5 separate regions of the Homo sapiens genome follow, and all the other regions are linked to region 1. Evidence: promoter capture Hi-C in 16 types of primary human blood cells and fetal thymus (Javierre and others, 2016). All regions are on one chromosome and are shown on one strand. Each heading gives the region's core, a stretch centred on a gene start or on the middle of the fragment in contact. The rest is flanking DNA. Distances are from core to core; before and after follow the strand shown. Region 1 holds the start of GALNT13-AS1 (GALNT13 antisense RNA 1). Region 2 has its middle 620 kb from the start of KCNJ3. Region 3 has its middle 600 kb from the start of KCNJ3. Region 4 overlaps LOC105373698 (a long non-coding RNA gene). Region 5 has its middle 490 kb from the start of KCNJ3.

Region 1 (2,703 bases), core at 101-2,600:
ATTTCTGCTAAAAATAGCACAAGGGGGAAAAAAGAACTTGATGATTACATGTCTTTTTTTGTTTTTTTTTTTTTGTATTTCAGCTTTTTTTGTTTTGTTTTGTTTTGTTGTTGTTGTTGTTGTTGTTTTGGTCAGTGTAGCCACAGCTAGAAAGGAGTAATTTCAAAAATGTTTTAGATATATGCTTGGCACATGGTTCTTTAACATTTATAAAAGTAGATTGTGCATAATGACAGATTTTAAATACTGTAAGCATTATTAGATGATATAATTGTTCTTTTGCTGTAAATTTAAATATTCATACATTTTTGTAGAGTTAAAATATGCCAATTTAGTTTTCCTTTGGTATATATTGCCTTTTTGGAAAATAAATGGTTAACATTTCAAATAGATAAACAACGTCACTATTTTATGCTTAACCTCCATGTTTGTGGATTATTTAAATAAATGATTAAGTGCCTATGAATATCTCCTTGCACCAAGAAAATGTTGTGTTCCCAGTACAATTTTGTTATCAAAATATATAAAATAGAAACACTAAAATATGCATGATTTTAAAGCATTTATTTTTATTTATTTTTGATTCTGAAATGATTTGAGGTGGATTTTTTTTCTTTCTGTTTTATAAAAATGACTAAAAATAGAAAAATTTAAAAGTCTCACATCAATGATAAAAATTATTTTTCAGAATATAGACCATACCCAATACCTGGCTTCTGAGACTGGAATCCTAAGACAGTGTGTCAGGGTGAGAGAAGATGGAGAGAAGCTGCCCACTCCACAGCACAGCGCAGGATCAACTCTTCAGTCTTAACCACTAAGATAATCAAAAAGAGCATTTAATTTTCTAAGGTGGAGAAAGGAAGGAAGGGGAGGAAGAGGGAAGCAAGAATAAAGAAGAAGGAAAGGAAAGGAAAGGGAAGGGGAGGGGAGGGAAGGGAAGAGAGAAAGACGATGCTAATAATCTGTTTTCATAATTTTATTCTGAAGAGACTCATCTGAAAGTTCCTGTTCAGAAGTCCATTGATTTGCAAACATGAACACCTCGCTAGTTTTCCGCAACTTATAACTGTCAGCAAGTGTAAAGGACATTTCTAGATTTTGTCCCTTCTTGGCTTTCTGTAAACCAAGTGTGACTCCAGATACCCAACTCTGTTACTCTCTTTTCGGTTACTCTTGTCCACGCACAGCATACATTTCCAGCAGTAACCAGGTACTCAAGTATAACCTAATAAAGCAACCCCACCCACTTCAGGCTTTGATAGATCCATAACTTACCCTGTCTTGCTTTTCTTCAGCACCTGGTAGAAACAGAATGTGAGCTCTCATGCTCAGAACTGTGCTTTCGTCTTCCTCCTCAGCCAAGGAGACTCTTAGGTAGGCTTTCTGTTGACTCACTCATTTTCTGACATCATGAATTTTTTCCCCCGCAGGACAGAGGATATTAATCACCAATCTCTGCTTCCACTGTGGGAAAGAGGTGGTAGGTAGCCCACTGAAATTCTTTTGACAGAAGTCTCTTCACCAATTTTTTGAAGTGAAAAACTAGGTAAACATGCAAACATCTAAAACAGATTTTACAGTTTTCTCTGCAACACAAAACACCTGAACTTACTGCAGCAAGCACTCTATCTCCTACATGATAATATATATAAGGTGGAGGCTGTGAAATCAACATTGTCTAAACAATTGAGGTCAGAATTTAAAACACCCTTCCTTAAGACTAATGGGACCTGTGTTCTCAGCCCTGAGCCTGCAGCTTGCTTTCCCTATGTACCTGTGAAACGTTTTGGCTTTTAAACAACGACATGAAGTTAAGTTGCATATATAAAAGCACTTCAAATTTCTTCCTTTATTTATATGGACCAAAGGGGTGGAGAATCCATTTTTTCCCACATAGTTAGCTTTTTAAAACTCTAGTTTCCATTAGTGGATTTAGAATCATTTGCCTCAGCAGCTCACCAACTCCTCCTTTGGATATTCTTTCTTCATTTTTTGGTTTTCCTTCCACCTCATTGGCCATTGATTTCCAGTTTCCTTTGCTAAGCTTTCCCTTCTTTCTCCCATGTCTTAATATTGGAGTGCCTCGAGGTGCAGTCCTTGGCCTTCTCAATTTGCATTGACTCTTTGGTGATCTCATCCAGAAGCACATATTTCAATGTCTCCGATGCTGATGACTCCCAAATATCTCTATCCAGTTCAAAAACTGCCTACTTGACATCTACACTTGGATAACTAATAGACACCTGAAACTTGGTTTGTCCAAAACTTAACTTTTTGCCTTCTCCTACAAATCTGTTCAACCCAGAGATTTCCATCTCAGTTGATGGCAACTCCATTTTGCCAGCTGCTCAGGCCTAAAATCTTGGTATCCTTGAAATCTCTCTCTCCATTAGAAAATCTCCTTAATTCCACCTTCACAGTGTTTGCTGAATCTGACCACTTCTTAACACCTCAACTACTCCCATTCTGGTCTGTACCACCAACTAAATGATAGCCGGAGTCTCCTGACTGGTTTCCAAGTTGCTTCCACCCTTGCCTCCTCCATAGTCTGTTCTCAGAGAGAGCCTTAAATTTATATAAAAAAATTGTTTAAAAGAGAACCAGAATAATGATATAAAATGTAACTCAGATATGTCTCTCTTCTGCTCAAAACTATCCAGTGGCTTCCTGTTTTGCATAAAGTAAAAGGCTATGTCCTTA
Region 2 (2,703 bases), core at 151-2,650, 860 kb after region 1:
AACATCTTCTTACCTCACATTTTAATTTGTACTATGTAACAATATTTCAGTACAGGGCATACTTAGCTAATTTAATTCAGCGAAATTCAGTTTAGTTCTACTAAATTCCTGCCATGTGAAACATGCAGAGTTAGGCAATAAAGGGATAAAGGAATCATTAATAAATTGTCCCAAGCCTTAAGCAGTTTAGAGTCCAACATGAAGTATAAGAAAGATATACAATTCCTTTTTTTTTTACTTTTATTTTAAGTTCAGAGGTACAAGTGCAGGTTTGTTACCTAGGTAAATTCATGTCTTTGCAATTGTGAATACTGCTGCAATTAACATTACTTTTATATAAATCAAATAGAAAGTGTGACAAGCATTTTATCAGGTAGGGAGAAATCATATTTTATTTAAGAGATCAAGGGATCTCTTAACTAATTAATTAAGATAAGTTTGAAAGGTATTAGTAGAGAGAAAGAGAAAAAAGCATCAATAAAATAATTAAATGAAAATACATTGTTCTATATTTTCACATAAAAAAGCACTTGAATTAATGGAAATATAAATGTAATAGTAGATAGCATTTGAAAGCTATATTATTGAGGACATCAAATACTCAGGCTAAATAACATTTATTATTTCAACAACCAATCGCATTGTTACACAGGTCCATGTCACAGTCTACATGTTAGAAAATAGTGGGTGGGAGAGGACAAGATGAAAAATACAAAGATAAATTAACCAAATGATCTTGTAAAAAGATACTTATAACATGGTGATAAATTCTGTGACAGAAATTATAAGGTCTAAGAGCATAAAGATGAAAAAAGTCTTGTCTTTAAGCTATGATTTGGGGCTTGAAGTATGTGTAAGGGAAGACTAGACAAAGCAAACGAATATTATAGGCTTAGGGGAGAGCATTCATTTATTCAGCTATATAATTAAAATTCATTGAATTTCTACTAACTTTTAGGTTTTAAGTACTTACAACTTTACATATAAATGGAAATACACAGTACCTAATCTTTTGCATCTGATTTCCATTACTTAATATCATGTTTGTGAGACTCATCTATGCTATGGCATAAAGACTCGTCTGTGCTATGCCACCTATGCTATGTGAGACTCATCTGTGCTATGCAGTTTATTTGCTTCCACTGATGGATAGTATTATTTTGCATGAATATACCACAATATATTTATCCACTCTTCTTTGGAGCTATGACTTATGCTGCAATAAACCTTCTTGTAATAATTTTTGTCAAGCATATTATCACGAGTTCCTGTTGGGTATAAGCATGGGAGTGTAATTTCTGGGTCAAAAGTTGTGAATGGTGCCAAGAGTAACTACCTTATAATATCAAACTATTTTTCAAACCCATATCAATTTATACTCCTACCAGCTCATATGAGAGTTGTCATTAATTTTTGTTCAATTAGACCTTGCTGATATTTAATTTGAGCTATCTTAACATGTCAATATTAGGATGTTGTCACATTTCATTAATTATTAATAACATGTATTAGCACTGTTTATATGATTATTAGCTATTTGGATTCCTTCTTTGGGAAAGTGGCTGTTCAAGTAATGCTATGTTCTCAGAAAGAGAAGCGTCTAGTGAAAAATCGATTTGAGGTTGTGAGGAAGATGATGAGCTTTATTTCAAACATCCCAATTTGAGCTACTAGTGAAACTTACAGGTGAAGATGTTTAGCAGAGTGTTGAAAAGTGATTTGGAGCTTGCAAGGAAAGATAGAAACGATTCCTAAATCTCCATCTTTGCAAAGACAGGAAGAAAAAAGGCAACAACACGAGTGGAGAGAAGTTAGAACAGAAATATTATTTTCGATAAAACAAGAACAAAGGAAGACGCCACAGGCAGATTTTGTGATAGAAAAGATATTGATGGAGTTAATGTCAAATGATCTCTGTCTTATCGGACAGGAAATTGATGTGGACTCAGCTAGTGCCAAACTATTTCCAGTGTTCTAAAATCCTGTGCAAATAAAATCCTTTCTCTGTTGCTTTATCTGTCAGAGGGAACTTAATTTCTTCCAGGTTTCTTTCTCTGAAATCTTGTAGTTCTGAGTCTCTTTTAGTTGCTATAAATCTAATCCCTCTTGAGACAGAGTCTCTCTACACAGCTGCTTATATTTGTCACTTCCTAGATGTCTGTCAAGGGCTCCATGACCTCCAAGGTCCCTGGAGTGCCAAACTTCTATAAACTATTAAATAATTTCCTCCAGTGAAATAATCCTTTCCAACAGGGATTTTATGGACTCATCCTGCCTTCCAATCATTTTTTCATAGATTCTATGTAGTAAAACTTTTGCAAAGTTTCTCATGCTTTAACCAATGTATCCTGCAAAAGACTTTTGGACAAATGAAGCATTACTCTCAAATTTATGAATCTCTCTTATTGTTATATCCTTAATCTGTTGCTCAATAATTGTAGGATAGTAGACTTGGAGCAGACATCTTCTAAGTGAAAAAATAAGTAACATGGAATGAAGGTTTCTTTAAATTCCAAACGACTTCTCCAATTTTGACTATACCAAAAATTTCTGTATCTCTGAAATATCTGGAGGAACTTCTCTTTCTTCTTTTTTTCCCTCCAAACAACATTATAATGTAAAATTTGGTTTAAAAATGAATAAAATAAAAAAGTGTATCAAATATAAAAACGTATGTAGCCTTATATAGTAAGACAAAAGGAG
Region 3 (2,703 bases), core at 76-2,575, 840 kb after region 1:
ATACTAGGTATTATACAGAGGACTATTATGTAGAATATGTATACAATTTTTTAAACCAACAATAGAAAAGTAAGCAATCCACTTAGAACATTGGAAGGACAGGAAGGAAGTGGGTATAGCTATCTTTACTATATCAATGTCAATATCCTAGCTGTGATATTTTATTGTACTTTTGTGAGATACTACCCTTGGGGGAACTGGGATAAAAGTACACGGAATCTCTGTTTCCTTTCTTACAACCGCCTGTGAATCTACAATAATCTAAAAAATAACAAATTTTAAGCTTGGTGCACTTGGTGCATGACTATAGTCCCAGCTACTCAGGAGGCTGAGGTGAAAATTTGAGGCTTATACCCGGGAATTTGAGGCCAGTCTGGGCAATACAGGAAGAACTTGTCTCTCAAAATAAGAAAAATTTAATTAAGGAAGAAGAGCATGTGCTTTCAGAAGGTAATCGAATTAGTCCTAACAATTAAAATGTATACATTCTGATATTAGAACACCTTCTTGTTGAAAGAATAGTTTTATCTTTTTATGCCTCTGACACATTAAAATGTAACTCAATCGGGAAGATGATAAAATCACATTAATTTTATTACAGTTATTCATCATCATTCATCGTCACTATTCCCTTCCTTATTCACTTATAATTAATAAGCCATTTAACTTAACTGCTGAAAGTGACTTCAGTCAGAAATACAGTCTAATCCCTCATTTCAAATGGGGTATCTAAAGCAGAGCATCTCAAACTTTAGGGGCATGAGAATCATCTGGACAGTGTGTGTTAACTTACAGGTTGCTAGGTCTCACCCACAGAATATATAGTTCAGCAGTTCTGGGCATCCCTTGAGAATCTGCACTTCTATTAAGTTTCCAGGTGTTGCTGGTGCTGCTGATGCAGGTGATGAAGGCATTGGTCCACAGACCTCATTTTGAGTGGTACTCTTTCTGAGACCAGAGGACTTAAGTATTTGTCTAAAGGCTGCACAATTCACAATAGCTAAGCACTAGTACATTCTTTACCACTACTTTATTTTGAAATTTTGCTTATTTTATTATTTAAAAAAAATTATAAGGAAAATCCTTTTTTATCTCCACTGATTGGAATAATACGTCATAAACTAGAATTCCCACTTCTACAGCACATGTATATCTCACTAAGTGTTGGCCAAATTTTATAAAAAATCACAAAGGTTGAAGTCACCGTTTGAACTGTAGTTTAAAAAGATAGAAGTACTTGAGGTTTTGTGTAAGATGTATAAACTTGTCATAAAATGGCTTTCAAGCACAGCATGTTTAGCCCCACACAGCAGCATTGTCTTGCACACAGTCATCCTTAAACTATAAGGTAGCATCCATCATAAATCTTATTTTAGAACTATGAAAATAAAAAAGCAGCACTATTTCTCTCAGCATTGCATAGAAGTAGATTCAAAATTCCAAATATATATTATAATATTGCCATCTAATGGATAATCCACAAAGAAAATATAAAGTTCATAATTAAATGTGCTGCTGCTGTTGAAATTCTGCTATAATCCAGCATAAAACCTTAGATTACAAGATCAAAGATTGCTAAAAAAAAAAAGCATACTAATTTTTCTCTGATATGGAAAATAGTGACGTAAGTCACGAACCAATGCATGTGACAAAACATTTTCTTCTTTTTTCAATAAACATAATATTTCCTATTTTCCAGGAAACAAACGGGAATAAAATTTTCATTTTTTATTATTTCTAAAACTAAAAGGTCATTCTCCTTCAAAATATTTAATCACTAATTGTATTTTTTAATAAGATAGTTTGTAGAATTTTTTTATAAATTAGAGAAAACATCATAAATAAGGGAAGGAAATTTACAGTGACTGCCTTGGTCTTTGTAAAATAAGCAAGGGGTGGAGATCACAGTCAAGAGCACAGAACCAGCCGATAGTTATTATCTGACTTAAGCAAATAGACTACTGTTTTATCACTCACAAAATAAAGATTTGAGATCAAATAATCTTTAAGAACTTTCCTGATTTAACATTCATGATGAAATACTTTTATTTGAGTTTCAGTTCCCTTTCTTATGGAAGGTAAAAGTTGATTGCAGTTGAAAAATTACTTTCAAGCAAAGTTGAAGCCACAATCACATTTGCTTTCTCAGGGATTTCCTAACTGCTTTTCAAGGCTCTGGGGTTAAATATATATATTGTTTTCATTTTTCACACACCAGAGTTACATGTAATGTGAAAATGTGTTTTCCCACCCAGAGTCACCAAGGCCTTAGGAAATAAAGCCTTCCAAGTATGATTTCCTCTTAGTATAAATTTTCAGCAGCATATACCAAAGATAAAATCAGAGTGTCTAAAATTATATTACGTGTAAGCTTTCCTAGGGTTACTTACCTAGGGTTCCTCATATGTTTTAAAAGTTTTTGTTTTTTCTTTATCAAAAAACAAATGCAGAACAACAGAAGTAAGACAGAAGGAGAGGAAAAAAGGAGAAAGGGAGAAAGACTTCTTACAAAACCAAACTGCAAATGTAATGGAAATACTTTGGGACAATATTATTTGTGTGTGCTATATGTCAAATCATAAATGTTACAAAATTTGTGCCTAAATACATAAATATTTTCATAGTATATGTTCTTAGAAGTGAAATTGGTAATTTAGAGAATAGGCAATATTTACATTTTGATTGATACTGCCAAAATAATCT
Region 4 (2,703 bases), core at 129-2,628, 820 kb after region 1:
AAATTTTGTTTGCTCATATTTTGTAGAAAATGTTTGCATCAATGTTCATCAGGTATATTTGGCCTACTTTTTTAAAGACTGTCTGATTTTGGTATCAGAGAAATACTGGCCTTGTAGAATGAGTTTGGAAGTATTCTCTGTTTCTCTATTTTTTTAATAGTTTAAGTATGATTGATATTAGTTATTTCTTAAATGTTTGGTAAAATTCAGCAGTGAAGCCTTTGTTTCATGGGCTTCTCTTTGCTAGGCGATTTTTTATATGGTGTCAATTGTTATTCCTTATTGCTCTGTGCAGGTCCGTATTTCTTCATGTTTCAATCTTGGTAGCTTGTATGTATCTAGGAATTTGTCCATTCCATGGTATTCCAATTTATTGGCATATAGTTGCTCAAAGTAGCCTCTAATGATCTATTAAATTTCTGTGGTATTGGATGTAATGTGTTCTTTCTCATCTCTATTTGAGGCTTCTCTGTTTTGTTTGTTTGTTTGAGACGGAATTTCACTCTTGTTGCCAAGGCTGGAGTGCAATGGCGCGATCTCAGCTCACTGCAACCTCCGCCTCCTGGGTTCAAGCGATTCTCCTGCCTCAGCCTCCTGAGTAGCTGGGATTACAGGCATGTGCCACCACGCCCAACTAATTTTGTATTTTTAGTAGAGACGGGGTTTCTCCATGTTGGTCAGGCTGGTCTCGAACTCCCAACCTCAGGTGATCTGCCTGCCTCAGCTTCCCAAAGTGCTGGGGTTACAGGCATGAGCCACCACGCCCAGCCTGTTTTTTTTTCTTAGTTTGGATAAAGGTTTGCCAATTTTGTTTATCTTTTCAAAAAAGCTGCTTTGGGTTATACTGATCTTTTGCATTGTTTTCTTTTTTTCAATTTCATTTATTTCTGCTATATTTTAATTATTTCCTTTCTTCTACTAATTTTGAACTTGGTTTGCTCTTGCTTTTCTAGCTATTTAAGATGCATCATTAGGTTGTTTATTTGAAGTTTTTCTACTTTTCTTATGTAAGCACATATAGCTACAAATTTCCATCTTACTATTGCTTTTGCTGTATCCTATAAGTTTTGGTATGCTGTGTTTCCATTTTTATTTGTTTCAATACATTTTTAAATTTTTTTCTTAATTGATTCATTCACCTGTTAGTCATTCAGGAGCTTATTGCTTAATTTCCATGTATTTGTATACTTTCCAAAATTCCTCTTGTCATTGATTTATAGTTTTATTCTATCATGGTCAGAGAACATGCTTAATATTATTTCAACTTCTTTGAATGTTTTAAGACTTGTTTTGTGACCTAATATATGGTCTATCCTTGAGAAATGATTCATGGGCTGAGAAAACATCATGCATATTCTGCATCTGTTGGATAAAATGTTTTGTAAATATCTATTATGTTCACTTAGTCTAGACTGCAGAATAAGCCTGAAGTCTCTTTGTTGATTTTTTTGTCTGAAAGATCTGTCCACTGCTGTAAGTGAGGTGTTACAGCCTCCAGCTATTATTTTATTGAAGTCTATCTCTCTATTTAGCTCTAGTAATATTTTCTTTATATATCTGGGTGCTCTAGTATTGTGTGCATATGTATTTAAAATTTTCATATCTTCTAGATCACTTGAGCCCTTTATCATTATATAATGACCTTCTCTGTCTCTTTTCATAGTTTTTGTCTTGAAATCTATTAGTGATACAAATATAGCTACACTTTTTCTTTTTTGGTTTCCATTGGCATGGAATACCTTTTTCATCACTTTATTATCAGTGTATGTGTGTCTTGTTCCTATTTGGTTTTTTTTTTTAATCCATTCAGCTACTCTGTCTTTTGAATGGGTAGTTTAGTCCATTTACAGTCAATATTATTATTGATAAGTAAGGACTTACTCCTGCCATTTTTGTTATTTGTATTCTGATTGTTTTCTGGTCTTGTCTTCCTTTTTTGTTTTTCTTTCTTCCTGTCTTCCTTTTAGTGAAGGTGATTTTCTCTGGTTATGTTATTTAGTTTCTTGCTTTTTATTTTTTGTGTATCCTCTGTATTTTTTTAATTTGAGATTACCATGATACTTGCAAATAATATTCATTATTTTAATCTGATGATGATTTTACACTAACTGCACACACAAACAAACAAGAGAAAATGAATAACAACTCTACACTTTGTCTATTCACTTTTTAAGATGTTGTCCTTTGTATTTATATCTCCTTGTACTGTTTATGTCTTGAGAAGTTGTAGTTTTTATTTTCAATTGGTTCATCTTTCAGTTTTTCTACCCAGGATGTGAGTAGTTTACACATCACAATTACAGTGTTATAATATTCTGTGATAATATTCTGTGATTTTTTGCTTACCTACTATTACCTGTAAGTTTTGGACCTTCAGATGATTTATTATTGCTTATTAACATTCTGTTGTTTCAGATGGAAAAACTCCTTTTAGCATTTCTAGTAGGTCTGATGTGGTGTTGATGAAGTCTCTCAGCTTTTGTTTGTCTGAGAAATTTTTTATTTTTCCTTCTTTTTTGAAGAATATTTTCATTGAATATGCTATTCTACGGTAAAATATTTTTTTCCTTCATCATTTTAAATATGTCATGCCACCCTCTCCTGGCCTGTAAGGTTTCTACTGAAGTCTGCTGCCAGATGTGTTGGAGTTCCTTTGCATGTTATTCATTTCTTCTATCTTGCTGCTTTTAGGATCTTTTTTTT
Region 5 (2,703 bases), core at 124-2,623, 730 kb after region 1:
AATTAGCTGGGCATGTCAATGCATGTCTGTAGTCCCAGCTACTCGAGAGGCTGAGGCAGGAGAATCACTTGAACCTGGGATTGGAGGTTGCAGTGAACCAAGACCACACCACTGCACTCCAGTCTGGGTGACGGTGTGAGACTCTGTCAAAAAAGAAAAAAAAAAGGCAGAGAACCTGAATAGACATTTTTCAAAAGGAGACATACAAAAGTCCAAGAAGTACGTGAAAAAAAGTGCAATATCACTAATCATTAGGGAAATCCAAAGTAATACCACAATGAGATATCCTCTGACACCTGTTTGAGTGGCTACTATTAAAAAGACAATAATTAAGTGTTGGTGAGGATGCGACGATAAGGGAACCCTTGTACATTGCTGGTGGGGAAATGTAAATTAGTACAGCCACTGTGGAAAACAGTACAGAGGGTTCTCAAAAAAAAATTATAAAATAGAACTATTACATGATTCAACAATCCCACTACTGGCTATATATCCAAAGGAAAGGATATTAAGTTAAACAGATGGCTGCACTCCCATGTTCATTGCAGTATGATTTATGATAGTCAAGGTATGAAAACAAACTAAGTGTCCATCAATGGATGAACAGATTAAAAAAAATGTGGTATATATACAGAATGGAGTACTATTTAGCCTAAGAAAAAGAAATCCTGTCATTTAACATACAACATGGACGAACCTGGAAGACAGTACGGTAAGCGAAATAAACCAGGCACAGAAAGACAAATACAGCATGATCTCACTTGCATGTGGCATCTAACTCATAGATAGTAAAATGGTGGTTACCAAAGGCTGGAGGGTAGGAGACTGGGGAGATATTTGTCAATCAAAACAAAATTTCAATTAGAGAGGAGGAATAAGCTTAAGATATCTGTTACACATCATGGTGACTACAGTTAATAACAATATGTCACATATTTAAAAATTGCTAATAAAGTAGATTCTTTATGTAAATATGTATTTTTCTCATTTATTCCTAATAAATGGACAATTTAGCTAAACCATCCCACTTGAAGAATACCTTCTCACTTCTTTCCATCCAAGTGATTTCAAGAATTAGAATGTAATGCTTAGAGGTTGTAAGCTCTACTCAGAGTAAAAATGCATTCTTATTTGGTTATGCAAAATTCACAGAAAGCTTCAAAGAACTATGGATTCGAATAACAACAGAACCTAGAAAAGGGAAACATAATAGAAATTGCCTGTTATGTAATGATAAGGTGATTCATTGAATTTAGATTTTTCTTGTGGCAAACACAGTCCTCCATCACTTCCTTTCCCTCGCTGTAAGCTGAAAACTGTGTTCTAACTTTTTAAGGAGTGAAAATATATTAAACATTCTATACTGCTGATTTCTATTTATGAAATCACACCCAAAATTAGCAATCAAGAAAGAACAGTAGACTATAAAGTTCATCTTTTTAAAAATACAAAAATATTATAATTTTAAACATCAAGCATATAGATTGTAAATTAATTAATAACTTTGTGTATATGAGGACAAATATATTTAAATCGTACACTAGAGAATGCTTTTTCCTGCGTAAAATACAAACTTTATTTGATATCAAATTAAGCTTCTCTGAATTTTCAAAATAAAATAACAAGGCTATTTCACATCAAATAAAAAGCAAGAATGATCACCCTCACATAAAAAAATACAGAAAAAATATAAGTTGAAGTAGAGGTTCAACAAAAATGACATAAAATCTGACATGAGTGGCCAACATTTTAAATTATCAATAGGAAACTCAATATGATAGATCTCTTAGTAAACTTCAGTTTGAAACAACAATAAGTACTGTTTACCAAAACATAAAACCAATTTTCAGAAAACTATCACTCAATTTGAAAAATGGAATATGGTACCCACGGCAAATAAGAAAAATACACACCATACACTGAATAGAGGGAACAAAAAAGGCAATCAACTTTCATATGAATCAAGAGAACACCAACTTATTAAAACTTCCCATAACAACTTTTGTAAAAACTAGAAACTATGATACATAAATTATAAAAAAAAGCATATCCTATATGATCATGTGTAGAAAACTGTAATTAAAGAGGTTGTTTTTATTAATTGCATAATCTAAAAATATGAGGAAATTTTGGACTATATCTCTAGAAAAGACCACAGAGGTATCATTGAGATACACATTTCTTGAGTTAATGGGCAAAGTTCCTGCTTTCATGAAATATCTGCCTCTTTTCACACAGTGAAACCAAGAAAAATTATATCAAATGAGAAATCTTTTTTCTCTAAATTACTCTTAAGTACTCCAATAATGCAATACTTGGAAAATATAATTTTTAAACACAGACTTGAAATAGATTATTTTTAAAAATACACAAATCTTGTGTCTTGGCACCAGATTTTTCAAAAACTAAATAGTTGTTTAAACCGCAAATAAAAGAAATACTACTATTCTACCTGAAGCTATACATTTAGAACTACGTGGCAATTTCTTGAAAAATAAAATGGAAAGGGTATTTTTACAGTCTCTGGCGTGCTTTCATGAATGTGTCTGGTGCAGAAAAGCATATCCAATGCTTTAGAAAAATAATATAAAAATAAGATTTATGCTCCAGGCAATTTAAGTAAAATCCAAATATTTATTTTTAGATGTGTCATGATATTTTTGATTATTAAGTAGTTGGATACTTGATACAGGTATTTCTGTC

What was found. Contacts are between HindIII fragments. The CHiCAGO score rates a contact against its expected background, and 5 or more counts as called.
Region 2: a contact is called between a fragment that was not itself captured here and the fragment with the promoter of GALNT13-AS1 in region 1, in 5 of 17 cell types (M2 macrophages, M0 macrophages, M1 macrophages and 2 more). The highest score is 25.1, in M2 macrophages.
Region 3: a fragment that was not itself captured here is called in contact with the fragment with the promoter of GALNT13-AS1 in region 1 in 5 of 17 cell types (M2 macrophages, M1 macrophages, M0 macrophages and 2 more); the score reaches 17.6 in M2 macrophages.
Region 4: a fragment that was not itself captured here is called in contact with the fragment with the promoter of GALNT13-AS1 in region 1 in 1 of 17 cell types (M2 macrophages); the score reaches 5.3 in M2 macrophages.
Region 5: a contact is called between a fragment that was not itself captured here and the fragment with the promoter of GALNT13-AS1 in region 1, in 4 of 17 cell types (M1 macrophages, M2 macrophages, M0 macrophages and 1 more). The highest score is 7.5, in M1 macrophages.

Annotation. Positions count from the first base shown.
Region 1 is chr2:154,456,088-154,458,790 of GRCh38, forward strand. GALNT13-AS1 (GALNT13 antisense RNA 1) reads right to left here and starts at 1,351. Exons shown (of 5, transcript NR_161181.1): 1 at 1,279-1,351; 2 at 710-817. It also overlaps a transcript of GALNT13 not described here. The HindIII fragment of the contact is 5,662 bases long and covers 1-2,045 here.
Region 2 is chr2:155,317,405-155,320,107 of GRCh38, forward strand. No RefSeq gene overlaps it. Among named protein-coding and RNA genes, the nearest start is that of KCNJ3, 620 kb to the left of the region's middle. The HindIII fragment of the contact is 7,488 bases long and covers 1-2,703 here.
Region 3 is chr2:155,296,122-155,298,824 of GRCh38, forward strand. No RefSeq gene overlaps it. Among named protein-coding and RNA genes, the nearest start is that of KCNJ3, 600 kb to the left of the region's middle. The HindIII fragment of the contact is 2,088 bases long and covers 282-2,369 here.
Region 4 is chr2:155,276,919-155,279,621 of GRCh38, forward strand. All of the region lies in intron 1 of LOC105373698 (a long non-coding RNA gene), which reads left to right. Among named protein-coding and RNA genes, the nearest start is that of KCNJ3, 580 kb to the left of the region's middle. The HindIII fragment of the contact is 5,541 bases long and covers 1-2,703 here.
Region 5 is chr2:155,187,524-155,190,226 of GRCh38, forward strand. No RefSeq gene overlaps it. Among named protein-coding and RNA genes, the nearest start is that of KCNJ3, 490 kb to the left of the region's middle. The HindIII fragment of the contact is 439 bases long and covers 1,155-1,593 here.